Regions from separate parts of the Homo sapiens genome. Here regions 1 and 2 are each linked to region 3. Evidence: promoter capture Hi-C in human tissues and cell types (Jung and others, 2019). All regions are on one chromosome and are shown on one strand. Each heading gives the region's core, a stretch centred on a gene start or on the middle of the fragment in contact. The rest is flanking DNA. Distances are from core to core; before and after follow the strand shown.

The links. Contacts are between HindIII fragments. The study calls those that stand out against the background at their distance.
Region 1: the fragment with the promoter of CARD9 here is called in contact with the fragment with the promoter of TMEM203 in region 3 in 2 of the 25 tissues and cell types used here (dorsolateral prefrontal cortex and spleen).
Region 2: a contact is called between the fragment with the promoter of INPP5E here and the fragment with the promoter of TMEM203 in region 3, in 2 of the 25 tissues and cell types used here (dorsolateral prefrontal cortex and spleen).

The regions. Positions count from the first base shown.
Region 1 is chr9:136,372,328-136,375,530 of GRCh38, forward strand. CARD9 (caspase recruitment domain family member 9) reads right to left here and starts at 1,342. Exons shown (of 13, transcript NM_052813.5): 1 at 1,205-1,342. RefSeq lists enhancers at 1,210-1,504, 1,524-2,237. The HindIII fragment of the contact is 15,539 bases long and covers 1-3,203 here.
Region 2 is chr9:136,438,374-136,441,422 of GRCh38, forward strand. INPP5E (inositol polyphosphate-5-phosphatase E) reads right to left here and starts at 1,472. Exons shown (of 10, transcript NM_019892.6): 1 at 235-1,472. The coding sequence starts at 1,046. It overlaps SEC16A (SEC16 homolog A, endoplasmic reticulum export factor), which reads right to left. Exons shown (of 32, transcript NM_014866.2): 32 at 1,732-3,049. RefSeq lists enhancers at 1-309, 251-360, 310-944, 945-1,578 and silencers at 651-1,140, 1,201-1,380, 1,431-1,630. The HindIII fragment of the contact is 9,976 bases long and covers 1-2,029 here.
Region 3 is chr9:137,204,350-137,207,264 of GRCh38, forward strand. TMEM203 (transmembrane protein 203) reads right to left here and starts at 1,299. Exons shown (of 1, transcript NM_053045.2): 1 at 1-1,299. The coding sequence starts at 1,065. The coding sequence ends at 655. NDOR1 (NADPH dependent diflavin oxidoreductase 1) reads left to right here and starts at 1,351. Exons shown (of 14, transcript NM_014434.4): 1 at 1,351-1,563; 2 at 1,883-1,960. The coding sequence starts at 1,429. RefSeq lists a silencer at 1,055-1,314. The HindIII fragment of the contact is 14,043 bases long and covers 1-2,915 here.

The DNA.
Region 1 (3,203 bases), core at 92-2,591, 830 kb before region 3:
TCCGCAGCCTTTCCCAGCCCTTGCTCCTGCCCGTTGGCATCCATGTCACCCAGATACGCAGCGGGGGAGGCACAGATGGGGTCTGAGAGAGGAACTCCCCCTACAGCATGACCCCCTCTGGCCTCTGCCTCCTGGACACTCCCATCACGCCCTGGAGCCTGCAAGGTTAGCCACCTCCATGGCTGGAATGGGCAGAGGAGCTGAGGGCAACTGCCTGGCACTATGGCCAGCCCAAGCTGGGTGAGAGCAGGTTGGCCAGTGGCCCTCCCACCAGCACAGCAGCTGGGGGAGCCGGTTCTTGTGGGACTTCCTCATTCCCCTGACCGACGCCTGCTCACATCCCTGGCTGTGCCCTCCCTCCTCCACGGCCGGCTGCTGATGATGCAAGAGTGGCCACCCAGCCCTGCTGCAGCTGCGGGGTCGCTGCACTGGCCGGGAAGAGCTGCCCACAGGAGCGTGTCTCTGTCACCCCCTGCCGGCCCCGCAACCCTGGGAGGGGCTGTCAGTGTTGCCCTTGGCTGGCCAGGAGTGCTGCTGCGGTGTTTTCTCCAGGTTGAGGTGCCGGGCACCAGTGAATCCCTGGACTCTTCTCCTGCCCCAGATGAGGCCCGGCCCCCATCCCAGTGGCTGCAACAGAACTACCCATGTTGGGACCAGCCACTGCTGTCCCTTTCTGCCAGCATGGTGGGGGCCTCAGCCGCTGAAAGCCACTCCCTCTGAGACTGGGACTGCGGCAAGGCTGGGAGCAGCCACGTGGTCCTCAGACAGCCTCCAGCCCCGCTGGGAAACGCTGGTTTCCAGCCCAGAGGAGCTGGGTCACTGCTCCTGGAGACATAGTTGCCCCAGGCTTGGTCTTTTGAGGCATTTCTCAACTTCCCGCTGCACTTTGTCACCCCATTCAGGACAGTTTTGACAGACAAGGGACTGAATAAAAACACTGGCCACACGGTAGACAGTCCTGGGAACACTGGGCCCCTTTCCTGCTTCCCCAGCTTGAAATGCAGGGTCCCATCTGCCACCGTAATTCCACTGAAATGAACACATCTCCGCCCAGGGGCCGTGAAAGGGACGGGGCCGCATGGCGGAGGCTGCCTGGCTGCCTGTGGGAAGCCTCAGGCTGCTCTGGGGGATCAGTGCCAGGATCCTGAACTAGGCCAACGCCAACCTTCCTGGCCACCTTTCAGAAAGCACCAGACCCACCCACCTGAGGGTCTTCCAGGAGCCACCTGCACTGCAGACACACCAGGAGCCTGGGCCGCGGAGCCTCTGGGAGATGCTGCCCGGGGCTGCAGGGAGGGAGGAGCACGCCGGACGCCTGTGCACTTCCTGATGGGTTCTGCTTAACTCCACAGTCCCGCCAGTCCTCCCACAGGGGGACAGTCCCTGGTGACCTGCTTTCTGATTCGCCCAGCCCAGGAGGCCCCAAGAGGCAGACGGAAGTGGAAGTCCGCTGCCCTCCAGAGGAAAGCTGCTCCCAGCCCTCCCAGCCTGGCCGGGGGCTGGGGGTCCTGGGGATGCCCCAGAGGCCCAGCCCTGGCACCTGGCAAGTAGAAGAGACAGCAGAGACCCCCAGGGGGCTGGACAAGGCCAGCCCGCACCCAGCCACTTTGACCTGGTCACAGGCTTCTGGAGACTTCTTCAGTAAGGCATGCTTTGCTCTGTGCGAACACCCTCGCCCTCGCCAGCATCTCAGGACAGCGGGGCAGGGCATGTGCAGGGGGGCACACAGCCACACGGCATGGCCAGCACACGCCTTGGTCACAGAAGGGCTGCAGCCCACCTTATGGAGCCCAGGAGGCCACAGCAGCCTGCCAGGGGCCATGGCATCGGCCACCACCCAGCTGCACACGGGGGAGAAACGTCCCTTCCAGAAGTGTCGTTATCCTCGTTATCCCCATCATGAGGCATCCCTGCTCTCCACCAGGATGCATGTGAGGACTGAGGCCACTCTCGGGGTCCCCCAAACCAGCTTCAGAAGAGCCGGTGACAGCAGGGCACAGCTCGGCCCCCATCCAGGGACAACGGACAGCAGAGTCTGCCCTGAACTGTGCACTTCAGCGTGTGGGCTGCCAGAGCCTCATCCCTGCAGGCTTGGGAACCCCCAGGCCCCGCCTCACCCGGTAAAGCTGGTTGAACTGAGTTGCCACCCAACAGGTTCGAGAAGGGGCCGCCAGGCTGGAAGGCAAGGAAGCTGGTGTGGAGCTTGCCTAACCGTTCTCAGCCTCCAGCCCTCAGGCCTCTGTGCGGACAACGTCTGACATCACACATTAAGGAGCGGACAGTTAGGGGTCCTCCTGGGCTCTCGGGAATGCCACATTCCAGGGGGCCGTGCCCCTGCTGGACCCCTCACCATCAACATGAGCGAGTGTGCAGGCCGGGGCCATCCTGGGCCCTGCCAGGGAGCGAACCGGAGCTGGCACCAGGCCCTCATGACCCAGTGTTTCCCCAGCGTTTAAAACGCGGACCTTAGTGACTTCCCTGTGGTGTGTGTCCTTAGGAGTGAACACACATACCATGTTCTCTAACCATATCGGAAGCTAAAAATCGGTAACAGATATCGGCAAAATCTCTAAATATTTGGAAATTAAATAATATACCGCTAAATAACCCACAGATCAGAGTGGCCCCCAGACTAGGCACCAGACTAGAGAACCAGGCACAGCAACACATACTCAGGAGTGAGGTCGGCCATGGGACCGTCCCGTCTGCCAGGTGCCCAGGGCTGAGGCCCCACAGTGGCTCCAGTGAAGGATCGAAGCCCAGATAGCCAAGGGCCTGGGGGCGCTGCTGCCACAGAGACAAAGGAAAGGGAGCTAGGGGACAGACGGAGAAGATGGGGGCTAGTCTTATGCCAATAAAGGCCCATGCAAAAGGAACAGTGGAGGGTGGGGGCTGCCGCCGTGTCGGGGTAGCCAGGTCATCTGTTCCAGGGAACCCCCTGGGTCAGCCAGGGCAGCGCGAGGGCTGGCAGCCATCTGGGGAGGGTGCCGGCTAGCCTGAAGGACAAAGCCACAGATGCTTTCCAGGAAATGGGCGAAAGAAAGCCTGCTTCTCTGACAGGAGGGCAGCCGGGGTACGGGAGGCCTTCCAGGACCCCAGCTCTGGGCCCCCAGCACCCTGCTTGTTCCCGAACTGCCTGCACTAGGGTGGCTCAGCCACTAGGCAGCAGCCTGACCCCAGCCAGGTGGGGGGTCCCTGTACAC
Region 2 (3,049 bases), core at 222-2,721, 770 kb before region 3:
CTACCTTAACACAACGTCACGCCCACGAATGGTTCTGAAACGCACAGGAAAAGTTCTGGGAAGGGCGCTGCTGTGGGGTGGGGCTGGGAGATGGGGTGGCTGCGGGAGACCCGCTTCGTTCTTTCCGGTTAGGCATCTTAAACGCTGCTGATGGGAACGGTCTCACGAGGTTCCAGCAGCCTGAACACTACAACGAAGGCGGCGCGGGCGCTGCACCCGCCAGGCCCTCCCTACCTGCTGCGGACGTCCTTGCTGCGGATGGGCGCCAGGAGGCTGAAGGAGGATTTGGCCGAGCGAAGGGAACAGTCGTCGCAGGCCAGGGGGCTCCGCGGCCGGCCGGGGCCCAGGCTGCTGTGGGCCCGCACCAGGAGCGGCTGCGCGCGGAGCTTGTAGTCTGCAAGATCCGAGTCGACCTTGTTTGCTGTCCTCAGGGAGTCGGAGGCGATGTCCAGGCTCAGGGCAGGCGGTGGGCGCGGGGGCAGCAGGCTGGGCAGCCTGGGCGAGCTCCCCGCCACGGCGGCGTCTCTGTGCGGGAGGTTCGGGGAGCTGCTGGCCACCCCAGAGAGAGGGTTACCCCCCGAGGACGGGCTCCCTCTCTCACTGCTCAGGACCCCGCGGGACTTGGGGATTTCCTGCAAGGAGGTGCTCAGGCAGGGCGGGGAGCAGCTGTGGGCGGGGGCCCCGGGGCCCTCGCTCTGCACTGAGCCCCTGGAGGGACTGGTCCCATTCCGGGCTTCCAGGTCCTCCTGGCTGCCTCGAAAACGCCTCCTCCTCCAGCCCTTGTCGTCCAGGGACAGGGCTCGCTCCAGTCGAGGCCTGGCGGGGGGCCGCGGGGCGATGGGTGCTGCTCGGGCTGGCGGGTCCTCGCCGCTGGGCGTGGCCGGAGTGCTGCAGGCAAGCGCGGGGCTCTCGGAGCCCGGAGCATCGGGTGGGGACCCCGCGCGCTGGGCCGGCGGAGCGCCGGGAAGCTGTCCTTGGAGCGTCCTCCCTTCCGGCGGCTGCGGGGCCGGCTCGGAGGGCCGCAGATTCTCCGCCTTGGACGGCATGGACGGTCTCTCCCGGGGCAGGCCTCGGCGCGAGGCCGCAGGCAGCGCGAGGGGTCACGGGTGCCGGGTCCGGGGTCGCCGGCGCAGCGAGGAGCAGAAACGCCGCTGCGGCTCCCGCTTGGGCCGGGGATGGTCGCGGAGGGGCGGGGGCGGCTGCCGCATGGCCCGGGCCCCGAGTCCCGCCAGCCCCTCGGGGCTCCCAGACGCCGTTCCCAGGGCGGTCCGCAGGCAAGGCCTGGGGGAACAGGCGGCTGGGCGCCTGTCGCGGGGGAGGTTCGACCCCGACGGGGACGCCGCTCGGGGAGAGGGGTGGGAAGCGGGCACCCCTGGCTGGGCTCGCAGACTCCGAAGTCGACCCGGTACTCGCGGAGGCCCGGCCGCCCAGAAGCGGAGTCAGCCCGGCCGGGACCCAGCAACCGCCGCCGCGGGGCCGCGCCCGGTCCCCGCCCCGCGCCCCGGCCCCGCCCACAGCGGCCCCTGGCGGCCGGAGGACTGCGCCGCACCGGACCCGGACGGGTCTCCCACGCCCCTCCCAACCCGGCAGCCCCGCAGTCCGGCAGGTCCCAGCGAGGCAGGTGCAGGTCCCCGGAGAGGACCTGGGTGCGGTCCAGGACAGCGCCGAGGCCTGCGGACACCTGCACTCACTCGCTTCCAGCAAACCAAAGGGAACCACAGGTGAAGGTGCTTGAAGGAGCGCAAAATATTTTATTCAACAATTTGCAATGTAACAATTCTCATTTAGGAAAAATAGCCGCTCCCGCCTGGAGGAAGCTTCTTGAATCAAAAGTCGTGGCAGTCGACCCCAGAACAGCGGGCAGAGCCGACCGGAAGAGGTCCCAGGATTCACACGAGCTGACCGAGGGACAGAGAGGGCTGCCCCGTCACAGGGACTGGCCTTTCTCCAAGTGACAAGGACAAATGGATCCAGCGGGACACGCCTGTGGAACATTTTGGAAAACATCCTGGGTGGTCTGGGCTAAATGATCAAGTGAAACAGAAAGCCAGGAAGGATCTGTGCTAATTCCACATTCTACAATTTCTACACTTAAATTTAAAACACCAAACAGTTTGTATTCCTCCAGCAGAACCTACAGAAATTATCTACTGATTTTTATTAGTATTTAAATCTTTTCTTCAGTCTCTTTAGACTTGACAAGAATACGAAGAGTTTCAGAACAGTCAGAGAAGCCTTAAAGCTTTGCATCAGTGAGAGGAGGCCCGTCTCTGAGTTGAACAGGGTTGAGTCCACCAGGAGCTACTCAAAGTCTCAGTGTGGCAAAACTCGGGGCAGAAATACTAAGTTCCAGAGCTGCTGTCAAGAAACTGTGTTAAGATACTCTCCCCAAGTGCTACCAACCTCTGAACCAACGTCCCCCAGGGGAGAAAGTGGGTCATGTGGATTGTACCACGAAAAGTGCTCACGGAAAGTGCAGCCTTTTAGAGAAGTGCATCCAGCTTCCTTAACAGTGAGTCTAACCGTGCTCCTACACACGAAATGAAGCCCAAATCAAACATCACACGGTCAGTTTTCAACCTGGATGACCACCCTGAGCCATCATGTCAGACAGCCGGCTCTCTGGGGCTCCTTCCCAGTGACTGGGCCACACGGTGGGCAGTCCCCAGCGCTTTGGGTACACAAAATCACCCATGGTCCTCATCAGGCCACAGAAAGTAAAGTGAGGCTGGAAGCGTCTTTGCAACAGGAAAGAAATTCACTGCAGTAACTAAGGCCTCTCTCAAAAACCGTGAACTAATGCCGAAGGAACCCCACGGCTCCTCGGAGGCGCTGATTGAGAACACAGCGCCCTCCACTCATTCAGCCAGGTTCAAACACGGCGAGGGCCCAGATGGTGCAGAGCAGGGGTTGGGGTCTGCCTCAGTCACCCTCTCTTTGCTCCCAGCACCTTAAAGGAAGCGCGGGACTCACTGGGCAGTGACTCACAGCTGGGCTTGGAGAGGCCCTGGTTACTACCGACCATGTGGCTCTCCTGTGGCAGAGACAG
Region 3 (2,915 bases), core at 49-2,548:
CAAGCAGTGCCTGGACAGCAGAGTTCTTTTCTTGGGCAACAGATAACCAGACAGGACTCTAATCGTGCTCTTATTCAACATTCTTCTGTCTCTGCCTAGACTGGAATAAAAAGCCAATCTCTCTCGTGGCACAGGGAAGGAGATACAAGCTCGTTTACATGTGATAGATCTAACAAAGGCATCTACCGAAGTCTGGTCTGGATAGACGGCACAGGGAGCTCTTAGGTCAGCGCTGCTGGTTGGAGGACATTCCTGAGTCCAGCTTTGCAGCCTTTGTGCAACAGTACTTTCCCAGGATCCACAGGAAATACTCAGAGTCCACCTGGACATTTTACTTATATTCAGTTTCCAAGTGTCAGAGGGGTTCAGGACTGTCTGGCCTGGGGGGCCTCCTCATGACCTCAATTCAGGATTATCTACTCAAAGCATTAAACAAAAGGAAATACATTTTCAGGATGAAGGCTGCTCTTTTAAGCCCTGCTGAAGAAACCATTTCAAACAGGATTGGAATAGGGAAACCCGGCACTCAGCTCGGCGCAAGCCGGCGGTGCCTTCAGACTAGAGAGCCTCTCCTCCGGTGCGCTGCAAGTAGGGCCTCGGCTCGAGGTCAACATTCTAGTTGTCCAGCGCTCCCTCTCCGGCACCTCGGTGAGGCTAGTTGACCCGACAGGCGCGGATCATGAGCAGCTGCAGGAGAATGAAGAGCGGGGACGTAATGAGGCCGAACCAGAGCTCCCGAGTCTGCTCCGCCAGCTTCTGGCACAACAGCATCTCGAAGACGAACTTGAGACTCAGGACCGTAAGTACCCAGAAAAGGCGGAGCACCGCCAGCCGCTTCTCTCCATCCTGGAAGAGGCGCACGGACACGATGGTGGTGAAGTAGGTGCTGAGCCCGTCAGCGGCGAAGAAAGGCACGAACACGTTCCACCAGGAGAGGCCCGGGACCAGGCCATCCACACGCAGTGCCAGCAGCACAGAGAACACCAACAGGGCCAGCAGGTGCACGAAGATCTCGAAGGTGGCGAAGCCTAGCCACTGCACCAGCTCCCGGAGCGAGAAGAGCATCGCGCCCGTTGAGCGCGGGCCGGGGCCCGGCCGAGCGTGCCACCCGCGGGGCTGCGTCTCCTCTCCCCGTGGCCCTCGCCCGCGCCTGCCGCCGCTGCTGCGAGCGAGAGGCAGCGAGCGGCCCCGCCAGCCCCAGCCCTCGGCCCTGATGCGCCGGCAATCCCCCGGCCCCGACCCGGGACTCAACCCTGGCCGCCCGTGAACGCCCGCCTCGATCGGACGCCATGCCCCCACAGGGCGCGTCCCTAGTGCGTCACTTCCGGTCGACGGCGGAAGGCGGAAGGCGGAGCGGTCCCTGCAACCCGGCCGGCGGGAACTGCCTTCTAGTTTTTAGTCTCAGACCAGACCACCGGGCGCACCCCGATGCCGAGCCCGCAGCTTCTGGTGCTCTTCGGCAGCCAGACAGGCACGGCTCAGGATGTGTCGGAGAGACTGGGTCGCGAGGCCCGGCGCCGGCGGCTTGGCTGCCGGGTGCAGGCCCTGGACTCCTACCCGGTGGTGAGGGCTCGCTAGGGCCTCGGCGTGGGGGACGAGCAGGCCTGGCGTGCCCGCCTCGCGGGGTCATCGACCCAAAAGGCGTCGCATTTTCTCTGAGAGCGGGTCTTTCCCTTATGGCGGATTTAGGGAAGGAGGTTTGGGAAGGGGAGTTCAGTTTAGCACCTGGAGGAGGTTGGAACCTGAAAGAGAAGACGGTCTGGCTGCTCACATAAATCCCTCTGCCCTGTCAGCCTGAGTAAAGGAGAAGGGGGTCAAGTTTTGGGAAGGACGCCCGGTCCTTACAGCCGGAGGTCTTACGTGTGTGTGTCTTTTTGTTGAGGTGAATCTGATTAACGAGCCCCTGGTGATATTTGTTTGTGCAACTACAGGCCAAGGAGACCCCCCTGACAACATGAAGGTAAGGCTGGCCTGATGTGGCTCCTCAGATCCCTGCCCTCGACCCTCACCCCGTTTTCATTGCCTGGCGTCTAGGTGCAGTAAATAGCTCTCCTTTATCTCATGCACCTTCAGAGGTGGATTTGAGAGAACGTCCGTGAGTGGGGCTGGGGGCTCCGGTTGCCCTCTCTAATAAACTCGTCGTAGCCACCAAATAGCCTTATTATCCGTTTTAACCTTTCTTATTTTTCCAGGGCTATCTATATGTGCATCTAGTCTGGGTCTTGTGTGTATTTCTAGACTGTATGACCCTCAGGGAACGTTGCTGAATTCTCTGACCATCTTTTAAGCACATATTCTATTCTTGGCACAGTCTGGTGCTGGGGATCCAGCTGTGAACCCAGCAGCCATATTTCCATCCTGGCAGAGTTCACACTGTAGCAGAAGCAGCTAACGGGCAATGACAGTGCCAGCAAACACCTGCTGCTGGGGAAAGTAGCATATGTCACAGGAGCACTGATAAGGGGCATCGAGCCTTATCTCACCCAACCTTGGGGCCCAGGCAGAGGTTTCTGGAAGAAAAGAGTGTAAGCTGAGTCACGGAAGGATGCGTGAGGGCTAGTCAGGCACCGAGGAAGAAGGAGCAGTCAGCGCAGAGGAAAAAGATGATTTGGTTTGTGTGAAAAGTGGAAAGCAGCTCAGGGTGGCCAAGCTGAGGAGTACACTGGGGCAAGAGGGGAGGAGAAGAGAGGCAGGAAGCCAGGCCCAGTCCAAAGAGCCTGAGTAACCACAGCAAGGCAGATGGGCTTGAAATGAAGGGTTGTCGGAACTGTAGGGGTGACACAGTCATGTTCCTAAGCTAGCAAAACCGCACTGGTCTGCAGGACAGCAGGAATAATGCCATGAGATGCACAGGACAGGCAGCAGATGCTACCGATCTGAGCTGAAGTGGTGGCAGAAGATAGAAGTGGACACAT